Linked DNA regions of Homo sapiens: region 2 is linked to region 1. Evidence: promoter capture Hi-C in 16 types of primary human blood cells and fetal thymus (Javierre and others, 2016). All regions are on one chromosome and are shown on one strand. The core of a region is centred on a gene start or on the middle of the fragment in contact, and the rest is flanking DNA. Distances in the headings are between cores, read along the strand shown. Region 1 holds the start of FANCC (FA complementation group C). Region 2 has its middle 39 kb from the start of HSD17B3-AS1.

Region 1 (6,006 bases), core at 1,492-3,991:
TTCCAGAGTAACACACACCTGGGCCCGGTGGCCCACGCCTGTAATTCCAGCATTTTGGTGCCACTGAGGTGGTTGGATTGCTTAAGCGCAGAGGTCGAGGCTGCAGTGAGCTGTGTTTGCACCACTGCACTTCAGCCTGGGTGAGAGTGAGATGCAGTCTCAAAACAAACAAATCAAAACCACACACACACACACACACACTCCCACACACAAACAAAAATTGGATCACCCATAATCAATTTTATGATTCAATTAAAAAGAGGGTTTGTATTGAAATATCTGTTTCTCTGGAAACTTTCTGGGCATTTTACAAAGTGAACATCTCACTATTGCTTAAAATATTATTAAGATAGTTCCATGTATATGAATGCCAGGCAAAATGAATCCCTATAAATATAAGTTTGGATCTTTATGCTATATATGCTTCCTATTTAGGTCTAATTTAGGCCTAAACATGGTGTCATTTCATATACTGCAAAGTTGGATGAGCCTAGCAATTCTTTATTAACCACTGAACTAAAAAGACAGAAAACTGGGATATGGCAAGACATCAATCATTAACAAACACTAAAAATGATTTTTCAGCGAATATGTAAAAGGATGTGGGTACCAAAATAGATAATTTCTCTCAAGAAATACATACTTTAATTGCTTTCTTTGCTGATAAATGCAGAACTTAAACGTCAACTCACTCTCGATTTGTTACCACAGAGGTGACTTTCTCATGGTCAAGGTGCCACGATGAGTGCCCCTCAGGCATGTATTTCCCTACCCAGGACTTGCTTTTGATTTATCCATGTCACACTATGCACACATCAAAAACACATCGACCTCTCTGCTGTAAAACAGAACGAAATCATGTCCTTTGCAGCAACATGGATGGAGCTGGAGGACATTATCCTAAGTGAACAAACTCAGAAACAGAAAATCAAATATTGCATGTTCTCATAAGCGGGAGCTAAACAATAGGTATACATGTACATAAGAATGGGAATAACAAGACACTGGGGACTCCAAAAAGGGAGAGGGTGGGAAGGGGGTGAGGGCTGAAAAATTAGCTATTGGGTACAATGTTCAATGTTTGGGGGACAGGTACACCAGAAGCCCAATCCCCACCATTACACAATATACCTATGTAACAAGCAAGCACATGTACCCCCGAATCTAAAATTAAAAAACAATCAAAAAGCACCGACTTCCTTAACTGGCATGGAATAGTTTCGAGAATGGATGTAAACACCGAATTCCTTAATGTAGTTGCAGATTCTGCCAGTTTTGTCTCAACCTCTGGATCGGTTCCTTTTTTTAACTACCTTTAATTCTTAAACAGATTGTTGCTATTGCTATGCTATATACTTATTGTATCACTTATAAATGTATAACCTCTGCAAATTAGTCTCTGAATTGAAAGTATTCATTGGTAAAACGGGTATTTCTTCACCATAGGAATAGTTGGACATGTTTAAATACTTGAGAGCTATTTTTATTACAAGCACACACAGCTTTGTGGTGTTTTTTGTTGAGACAGAGTCTCGCTCTGTTGCCCAGGCTGGAGTGCAGTAGTGCGATCTTGGCTTACTGCAACCTTCGCCTCCTGGGTTCAAGCAATTCTCCTGCCTCAGCCTCCTAAGTAGCCGGGAGTACACACTAATTTTTGTATTTTTAGTAGAGACGGGTTTTTGCCATGTTGGCCAGGCTGGTCTCAAACTCTTGACCTCAGGTGATCCACCCGCCTCAGCTTCCCAAAGTGCTGGGATTAGAGGTGTGAGCCACCGCGCCCGGCCTGTAGTGTGTTTTTGAACGTATATGTGAAGTTGTAGCTTTTTTTTTTTTTTTTTTGAGACGGAGTCTCCCTCTGTCGCCAGGCTGGAGTGCAGTGGCGCGATCTCGGCTCACTGCAACCTCTGACTCCCTGGTTCAAGCTATTCTGCCTCAGCCTCCAGAGTAGCTGAGATTACAGGCGCCCGCCACCGCGCCCGGTTAAACGTTTTGTATTTTTAGTAGAGACGGCGTTTCACCATGTTGGCCAGAATGGTCTCGATCTTCTGACCTCGTGATCCGCCCGCCTTGGCCTTCCAAAGTGCTGGGATTACAGGCCTGAGACACAGCGCCCGACCTAAGCTGTAGTTTTATGATTATGATTTATGGTTGTGAGGCATTGATTTAAGACATTTTAAAGCTTAAGTCGTCAGATCCTAGAAGAAAAAAAAATTCACCAAGACAAGCTAATGCCATTGTCATAAATGGGAGTTTGGAGAAAATTTTATTAATATTTGTTTGGGTGGTTTATGTACAGCGTTGAACTGATTTGAACCCCGACCAAACACTGTATGGAACTAATGTACGGTAGGGGAAATCATTAACTGAAGATGCCTTTTTTGTTGCTATTGTTTAGAACGCAGTTAGAAAATCTTATTTTAGAGGTTTTACCCCGTTGACAAAGCCTCAACTTTTCTTCAAAAGAACTAATTTCCATTTTACCTCCCCTACATTTTGAACAGAATATGGAAGAAGCCAGCGCCCCTTCTCCGCGGGCGCTGCTGCAACCCTGCTCCCGCCGGGGCTTCCGCGCGAAACCGGGAACACTGGAGCAGTACCGACTCCGCTCGCCTAGAACCCGCCCCAGCCGGGCCCACTTCCGCCAGAGCCCTGGCCGCGCCCGCCCCGCCCCACGGACCCGAGATTCGTCGGAATTTTCCCGCGACGCCGCGGGAGCGCGCGGGGCCGCTAGCCAGGCCCCAGAATGCACTGCTGACACGTGTGCGCGCGCGCGGCTCCACTGCCGGGCGACCGCGGGAAAATTCCAAAAAAACTCAAAAAGCCAATACGAGGCAAAGCCAAATTTTCAAGCCACAGATCCCGGGCGGTGGCTTCCTTTCCGCCACTGCCCAAACTGCTGAAGCAGCTCCCGCGAGGACCACCCGGTAAGCGGCAGGCCGCAGAACGCAGCGAGGGCGGAGGCTTCCCTCGGGGGTCTGGCCGACACGTCAGCGGCGAGAGCGGGAGGAGGAGGCGAGGGGCAAGAGGGAAGGCTCGCGAGAGCGGGTGGGCCAGGCGCGCCTTGCGGTGGGCGAGAGGGGTTCCCGCCGGCGCAGGGCTGTGGCTAAGGCTGAGGCGGGAGGCGGGAGGCGGGAGGCGGAAGGTGGCGGGCGGTGCCAGCCCGCGGGGCGGGGCCAGGGCGGGGAAAGCGGGGGCGGGAGCCGGCGCTGGGGTCGCGCGGAAGGGAGCCCCCGGAGAGGCGGGAGCCGGGTGTTGGCGTTTTGGTTCTTTTTGTTCATTGAGCGCAGGCAGCTATGTCTTCTTCAAAGGAGAGGAGCAAAGGTGAATTTCTCTGCCTCGGACTCGTGGGAGCCGTGAAAAGCTCGCCCCTTTGAGCCGGTCGCCCTCTACAGCTGGCCTCGTCCTCCCCGTCCCTCACACCCCTGCCCCCAAACCCCATTCGCCGGGGCGCCAGGAGGGGCGAGGTCCAATTAGAGGAGCCCGGGGCGCGGCTGTTACCCCTCCCGCCCTCCGCCTTTTATTCCCGGAGGGAGGCGGGTTCGCAGAGGCCAGTGTCTTCCCTCCATTCTTTTTGTGGACGCCAGGCCATATCTTCAAAGCCCGTGAGAGATTTTTCAGGTGCTGTTTGTTGGTTTGCTCTTTTTAATTTTTTAGGTGGGTGCGTTTACAACTACGAACCCTCTATGATCTTATGTGTCCAGCGCACCGAATGGGGGAAAAGACTTGGAGTTTTATAACATGGGAAATTGGGTACCAGAATCTTAAGGGAAGAGACCAAGGAGTTTTCTAGCAAAGTCCTGTATGTGCCTGGACTTTTGTTCTAATCTGAAACTTGGAAAACTCCCGGGCATCTGATTTTATTCTAACTTGTGCCCCATTTAATGCATCTAAACTGTGATGTGATTTGACTTAGCATTTATCAAATGAGCAGAGCACTTTTGGGCCACCCAACTTCAGCTCTTTGTGGCTGTCACTCACTGTCAGTGATATGCCCTCAGACAGATCGTTTTCTCCTTACTCCCCTGAAAGGTTGTTACAAACAGTAGAATTCATACCATGTGTTGAGATCATTCATTACCTAAGCTTAGATGGAAAACATGTTCATTGCGACTTTATACATTAAACTTGAATTGATGTTTCAATGTTATGTGCTGTACCAGAGTCACCTGGAAATAAGCACTCATATACATTATTCATATACAAGAAAGGCTGCATCGAAAAAGAATTTGTTTTCCTAGATATATCAGAGATCTTTTTCACCAACCCACTACTCCCAGTAATAGAGCCTGCTTCTTGAGAACTGGACTAATTATACTTTGTATATTATACATTCGAATTTATTTTTGCTTTATTCGGTCATATTTTCTCTTGATTTCTCCAAAAACGTTTACCAAGGCATCAGAAAAGAAAAGCAGGCTCTATATTGGTATTTTTTGTTTTGTCCTCTAATAAAAAGCATTAACTTGATTGATTGGCTGGTTGTGGAAGATGTGTTGCTGCATGTATGTGCAACTGTGCATGTACATTTTAAAACAAATGGTACTTTTAACCAGTTCCATATTTCAGCAGGTAGTTCCAATAACAATTATACAAATTTCGTGTTTATGAGAACCAGCTACAGGGAGGCCAGCCTGGCCAGTAGAAAGTTGGATTGATTATCTGGGCCATGGAGAGAGCCAGAGGAAACTCACATGAGTGGTAGTTCCAAGTTGGTAGTGTTAGGGCCTCAAATCGGGCTGGAAATGAGCACCAAATGATTTTTAAAAGTTTTATTTTAGGCTGGGATATGTGCATTCTCTGTCTTGTTTGTGGATCTTGAGTGATTGACTTAATGTGAAAAAATACATACAGGAGAAGCACCTTGGAAGTTTTGCAATGTTTTAATAAAAATGCAGAAGTGGAGAAGGAAAGGCAATTCAGATAACAGGCAGAGCATGGTGGCTTATGCCTGTAATCCCAGCACTTTGGGAAGCGGAGGCGGAAGGATCACTTGATCCCAGGAGTTCGAGTCCAGCGTGGGCAACAGAGAGAGCCCTGTCTCTACAAAAAGTTAAGAAATTAGCCGGCCATAGTGATGCGGGGCTGTGGTCCCAGTTACTCGGGAGGCTGAGGTGGAGGATCACCTGAGTTCAGGAGGTCGAGGCCACAGTGAACTGTGATTGCGCCACTGCACTCCACACTGGGCAGCAGACTGAGACCGTGTCTGGAAAAATAAAATTGGTAACAATTCAGATTGGCCACCAGAGTTGGACTGGGGGCTAGCAGGCAATGGTTTTACCTCCATTTTGAGATTGGCATCTTCTAACTCAAGTTTAATACGGGACTGAGGGTAAGAGACCTGCATGCCTTTTATGTCAGCATTACATTATCTTGATTATGGCAGCTTTATAGTAAGTTTTGAAATTAAGTAGTGTAAGTTATCCAATGTTTTTCTTCATTTTCAAAATTGTTTTGGCGGTTCAGGGTTCCTTACATTTCCATATAAATTTTAGTATCAGTTTGTTATTTTTTTTCAGAAAACCGTGCTGTGATAGACTTTGTAGGAATTGCATTTAATTTTGCATATCTATTTGGGGGAGAATTGCCATCTCATCATGAACATGGAATCTCTTTCCATTTGTTGAGCGCTTTAATTTCTCTTAGCAGTATTTAGTAATTTTCAGTGTACAAATTTTGCCCTTTTGTAAATTAATTTTGAAGTTTTATTTTTGATGGTATTGTGAATTGAATTATTTTTAAAATTTCATTAAAATTTTTTTTATCGATAAAGTGAAAGCAAGTTTTTTGTTTTTTTTTTGAGACAGAGTCTCGCTCTGTTTGCCCAGACTGGAGTGCAGTGGCACGATCTCGGCTCACTGCAATCTCCGCCTCCCGGGTTCAAGCGATTCTTCTGCCTCAGCCTCCCGAGTAGCTGGGACTACAGGCACCCTTCACCACGCCCGGCTAATTTTTGTATTTTTAGTAGAGACGGGGTTTCACCATATTGGTCAGGCTGGTCTCAAACTC
Region 2 (6,006 bases), core at 1,186-3,685, 890 kb before region 1:
CTTTTGAAACTTAAAGAAAAAAAGCAAAATAAAAAAAGTCAAGTTGAAGTAGAAAACAAAGGGAATGTTCCAAAGGAGGAACAAAAAGGCAGAGATGGACAAGAAGAACATAAATGTAAGAAGCTTAAGAGGACCAATCAAGGATATCTAACAATGATGAACCCAAAAATGAAGCCAGAGAAAGGAGAAGAAATAAAAAAGAAAAAGGCACTTTATCAGAACGTACGCAGGATATCTAGATCTGCACTGTTCAAGATGGTAGCCACTAGCTACCATGGTTAACTAAGTTGAAATGAGAATTAATTGAGATTAAATGAAATGAAAATTTCATTCCTCAGTTGTGCTAGCCACATTTCCAGTGTGTGATAGCCACGTGTGGGTGGTGGCTGCTATATTGGGCATGCAGATGAAGAATGTTCCCTCATCACAGAAAGCCCTGCCATGTGGAGCTGCTCTGCACTGAATCCATTAATTTCATAATTAGTGAAAAAACACTCATTCTTTATAACTCTAGGGATTCAAAATAATATCTCAGAAGCTTCTAGAAGAGAAGAAAAAGCAATGACACACAATGAAACAAGAATCATGATGACATTGCATTTCCCCATAGTGTCCTGGAAGCTGGAAGGCAGTCAAGTGATGTCCTCACACTTTTCAGGAAAACTTATGACCCACCCAGTTTTCTACATCCAGCCAAACTATGAGTCAAGTGTGAGGATAACATGAAGGCATCTCAAACTTGCAAGAACTGTCCGATTTTACCACTCTTATACTCCTTTTAGGAAGTTAATGCAGGATGTGCTCCAGTGGAATGTAAAGGTATCCTACGAACAAGCAAGAGGTGAGTTTAACAGAGCTAACTTCTGAGCCACAGCACCTGTTGGTGCATCACAAATCACCCTGAGACATGGCAGCTAAAAGCAACACGTGTTCTCATCTCACCTGCTTTCTGAGGGTCAGGAGTTTGGAAGCAGCTTAGATGGGTGGTTCTGGCTCAGGGCCCCCCATGAGGCTGCAGTCAAGCTGTCGCCCTGCAGTCACCTCAAGGCTTGCCTGGGGCTGAAGAAACCACTTCAGGCTCACTCACATGGTTGTTGGGAAGCTTTGGGTCCTCACTGGCAGCTCCCAGCCTGGCAAGTGGATTCTCTAGGGGGACTGATGGGGGAGAGAGAGACGGGGACGAGAACCCACGACAGAAGCTGCAGTTCATGAATTAATCTTGGATGTGGCCTGCCATTATTCCACTCATTAGCTGGAAGTCCCTAAATCCAGCCTACATGCACAAGAAAGGGAATTAAGCTCCACCACTTGAAGAGAAGAGTATCAAAGAATTTGTGGACTTATTTTAAAAACAACCACAGATGTCAAGAAGTAGTCTAAATATTTAGGGAGGAAATAATATCAATAGTACAGAAAAGATGCAGAGACTAGGAAAAGAAAGAACATTTCTCAATTCATTTTATGAGGCCAGCATAACATTGATATCAAAACTTGACAAGGACATTATAAGAAAGGGGAGTATAGGCCTGCATCTCTCATGAGCAGGCAGGCAGCAAATAAAATACAAAAATATATAAAAAAGATAATACATCATGAACAAGTGGCTTTTTTTTCTGGGAATATAAGGCTGGTTTAAAATTCAACATAATAATCATATTAATAGAATAAAGGAGAAAAAATGTCACATGATAATCTCAATAGATTCTAAACAAAGCATTAGACAAAATCCAGCACCTGTTTATGACTAATTAGAAATAGAAAGGCACTTCCATAATCTACTAAAGGATATCTCCGAAAGATCTGTGGGTGACACCTTATACAAAGATGAAATATTGGACACTTTCCTCCTGAAGTTGCAAACAAGTCAAGGATATCTGCTGTGGTCAATTCTAGTCAACATTGTCCTGGAGGTCCTAGCTGGACCAAGAATGCCTCCTAGCCATGCGGCAGCCTGAGTCCTTCACGTCCCCGTTGCCCTGTCCTCAGCCCTCTCCTCACCTCGCCACCAGCTACCAATTCCTGCCAACACTTGGTCCAGGCTAAGACAATATCTAATTGAAGAACAAATTATATGCTTACACCCAAATTCTGAGCTATTGGGCAAGGCCTCCAAAAGCCCTTTGCATAAGAATCCCATCCCCTGAGAAAGTGGTGGATGTAACACTGAGATGGGGTGCCCCAACTCTAGGTTTCGGGGGTCAACTCTTCCAAATGGAACAGGAGAAGCAAGGCTTGCTCTCTAGGTAGGAGGCTCCAGGAGGTAACCCCAAAGAAGAGGAAGGCAGAAACCATGGGTCTTGGTTGATGGGGACCATGCATGAAGCTCCTGGATCGTGAACTTCCAATGTTGACAGGCTCGTCCCCCAGTTCACTGCATTACAAAATATCCAATTTCTGTAAGAGTAGTTGGGCCCTTATAACGTGCCAGGCCTGCCTTCTACATGTTCTCTCACTTCATGTGCTTTCTACACATTCTCTCGCTCTCCCTCTCTCTCTCTTTAGAGTTAGGGTCTCACTTGTTGCCCAGGCTGGAGTGCAGTGGTGTGATTATGGTTCACTGCAGCCTCGACCTCCTGGGCTCAAGCCATCCTCCCACTTCAGCCTCCTGAGTAGTTGGGACTACAGGTGCACATGACCACGCCAGGCTAATTTTTCATTTTTATTATTTGTAGATACAGGGTATCACTATGTTGCCCAGGCTGGTTTTGAATTCTGGGCTCAAGTGATCCTCGACCTTGGCATCCCAAAGTGCTGGGTGTGACCCCCTGCACCCAGCCTACATGATCTTGATTCTGGCGTCTGCCCTAATGAGGGGTTAGCAAGGGAACAGAGAGCCAGAATCACAAGCTCAGCCAAAGCTGCTTTTCCTCTTTCCTGTGGCCTGGTGTCCTTCTTTCTTCCTAGCTTCCTCACGCCCTCTGCTGAAGGCGCGGTCCTAAGAATAGGAAGAGCTCTCCTCACCCTTTCCAGGGCCAGGCACTGGTGATGTGCGTGAGGCATACCCTCCATTGTTTCTCTGTCATGCTGGGCCCAGGAGGTGGGTTCTCCTCTGCCCATTTCATAGAAAAGAGAAAGGAAAAGTGAAGTAACTTGCCCTGATCACACAGCTAGGCCTCTGTTTCCAGGATCTTGGCTCTAACCATTGAACCCTATTGCCCCCCTGAGGCTGTGTCCGGGGGCCTTTGATTTGGCTTTTGACCCATAGGAGTTTTCCTCTTCCTGGAGCTGAGTCCTTAAAACCAGCAGCCCCAAACGAATGGCCCTTGCCCATGACAAAATGTCAGGCCAGCACGTCTGGGTGATTTTAAGGGAAGGTTTTCCCTAGCAGGGCCTCAAGACACAACCCACAGGTGGCACTCACTCCAAGGGACTCCCCAAACTGGGACCTGTCATCGGCGTGTCGTGGTTAGTCCCTCAGCAAAGCATTGGAGGGCCTAATGGGGAGGAAAGGGGAGACATGATGGCTCCCCCAACCCCTTAACCTCATGAAGCCTCACTTCTTTAACTACCAAGGATCCAGAGGGAAGAATTAAGGCCTGAAATCTCTTTCAATAAAAACTGTGAAGGAGGCCCCTGCTGCAGTGTCTGCAGAGGCGATACAGCAAGCCTTGCTGGAGGCTTTGACTTCAAAACCTGTCTGCACACTATTACCCTGCAAGCCCAGGGTATTTCAGAGGTGACTTCCTTCTCTATCCCTTCATTCATTTAGGCTTCAGTCTAAGGTGTGTTAAAGTCTGGTGAGAGTGATCACTTCCTATAATAAGCTTCTGTTTGTATTGCTATTAACCAACATCAAAGACAGCATTAGACTTTGATAGCAGTGCTTTTTTTCTTTTCTGCTGCCATGAAATTGAAGCTTATTCGTGGAAAAAAGGCAAGACCACGGGCAGTTCTGAATGGAGGAGGCAAAGGGTGTGTGTGGGTGTGAGGGTGTGTATAGATGCATGTGGGTGTGTGTGGATGCCTGTGGATGTGTGTGGGTGCATGTGGGTACATCTGGGTATATGTCTAAGGAAAAGATGGGATGGGGAGGTCTAGCAAGGCAAACATCTCCTTATTCAACAGCCGCTTGGCATCCATACAGCCCCTCCTCGCTCCAGCCAGAGTGCCCTCAGGAGGCGGCGAGGCAGCCCAGGCCTCCGGGGCTGGCACTGAAACTGTGACAGACCCTCCTCGTGGCAGAAGGAGTGTTCGCTGTTTGACACACATAGCTATGTGAGTGCATGTAAGCAGTACTGTGACCCTACTTCATATGACCACAACCTGTTGGGAGTGCTGAGTTGTTAGCGGAACGCTAAATCAGATGCAGGTTTCTCAGAGCCACTTGCAGCTGGGGGTAAGCCCACTCTTTGCGTAGCTGACAAACACAATGGAAAATGTGAGATTTGGGTTTGAGAGCTGACTTGGGCATCTCAGGGGAATGGCTCACAAGAAAGATGTTTGGCTTTTAGCAGCCAAACTGGAAATGTCCTGGTAACCGAAAGGGAACCATCTCAGCCACAGGCAAATCTCCATGTTCTCAGCAGCGCTCTGGGAGCTTGCAAGTAGTTCTCACAGTGTAAGGACTCAAGGCTATGCTTGGAATGGATTCAGAGGAGCAGAATTATTTTGTCTTCATGAACCAAAACGGGCACTACTGTTAAAGTTTGACTTTTATCCATCCGTCTCCAGAGAGATTAGATCAAACACCAAGATGAAAGTGTTGGAGATGCAGCCCAATAACAAAAAGAAACCCATGGCTGGGTGCGGTGGCTTAAGCATAGTCCTAGCACTTTGGGAGGCCGAGGTGGAAGGATCACTTGAGCCCTGGAGTTTGAGACCAGCCTGGGCAACATAGCAAGACCCCAACTCCACAAAAATTTAAAAAATTAGATGGGTGTGGTGGCGCCTGCCTATAGTCCCAGCTACTCAGAAGGTTGACGAGGGAGGATCACTTGAGCCCAGGAGGTCAGGCTGCAGTGAGCTATGATTATGCCACTGTACCCCAGCCTGGGTGACTGCGTGACGGCTTGCATCCATTAAAAAAAAAAAAGAGAGAGAAAGAAAGACAAGAAAAGAGCTCACATGTGTGCAGAGAAGAGAGCTGTTTTAATGGCCTGCAAACATGTTCTGTGTGCCCCCAGCACCTTGCTCTGAATCTCCAACTCTTAGACCCTCTGCCTTGGCATCACTGGTTGGGGAGTTTTTGGTCTGGGTACCCAGCTTTTATTTCCACCACAAACACAATGCATCTTAAGCAATCTTCCTGGAATCCCAGGCCTGGTACTGTTCTTAGTTGTGAAAACTTAATGTGGCAGTACATTTTAATTAACTATCTGCCCTCAGTTTTACCTTTAAATGTTCTTGTTGCATTTGAAACTTCTGAAACCACACAGTGCGTATAAAGACAGCAGGTGATGTGAGCTGGCAAGCATACGAGTGTATCAGTCAGGATAAGCTGGGTTTTGCTGCAACAACAATCAGATCCCAGATACCAGCAGTTTAAAAAGAAAGGCTCATGTCTCAGTCACATCATGGGTTCATTACTGGTTGGCTGCCACTCTGCTCCATGTTAGCTGTGCCCTGGGACCCAGGCTTAAGGAATGTCCTCTCTCTGCAACTTGCTGGTGTGACAGAGGAAGAGAGACAAGGTCCACTATACACTGTTTTGAGTGTTTCCACCCAGAGGTGGACATGCCACTTCAGCCTGCGTTCCATTGCCCAAGGGAGTCACTTGGCTGTGCCTCAGTTCAGTGGGAAGGGGCCACATCCACAAGATCCCTCCTGGAGGAGAGTGGCTTCCGGGAGGGAAACCTGGATATTTGGGGAAGGCAACAGGGCTAGCACTGAAAAGGGGCCCTCTGTCTATTCTTGGTGTCTGGCCTGAAATTAATAAGCAAGGTTTATCTGTATATACACGTTTCCAGGAAAAAGCCTAACGTTGGGTATTCCATTGCAGGAGGCACCCCACAAGCCTGGTATTCCTGTTCTCCAAAGGACCCTACGATGCACGGATAATGTGTGAGG

What was found. The method cuts DNA at HindIII sites, captures the fragments that hold promoters and counts their contacts. A CHiCAGO score of 5 or more calls a contact.
Region 2: a fragment that was not itself captured here is called in contact with the fragment with the promoter of FANCC in region 1 in 1 of 17 cell types (endothelial precursors); the score reaches 5.0 in endothelial precursors.

Annotation. Positions count from the first base shown.
Region 1 is chr9:95,314,444-95,320,449 of GRCh38, reverse strand. FANCC (FA complementation group C) reads left to right here and starts at 2,741. Exons shown (of 15, transcript NM_000136.3): 1 at 2,741-2,924. RefSeq lists a silencer at 3,070-3,389. The HindIII fragment of the contact is 1,904 bases long and covers 2,182-4,085 here.
Region 2 is chr9:96,204,484-96,210,489 of GRCh38, reverse strand. No RefSeq gene overlaps it. Among named protein-coding and RNA genes, the nearest start is that of HSD17B3-AS1, 39 kb to the left of the region's middle. The HindIII fragment of the contact is 2,662 bases long and covers 1,105-3,766 here.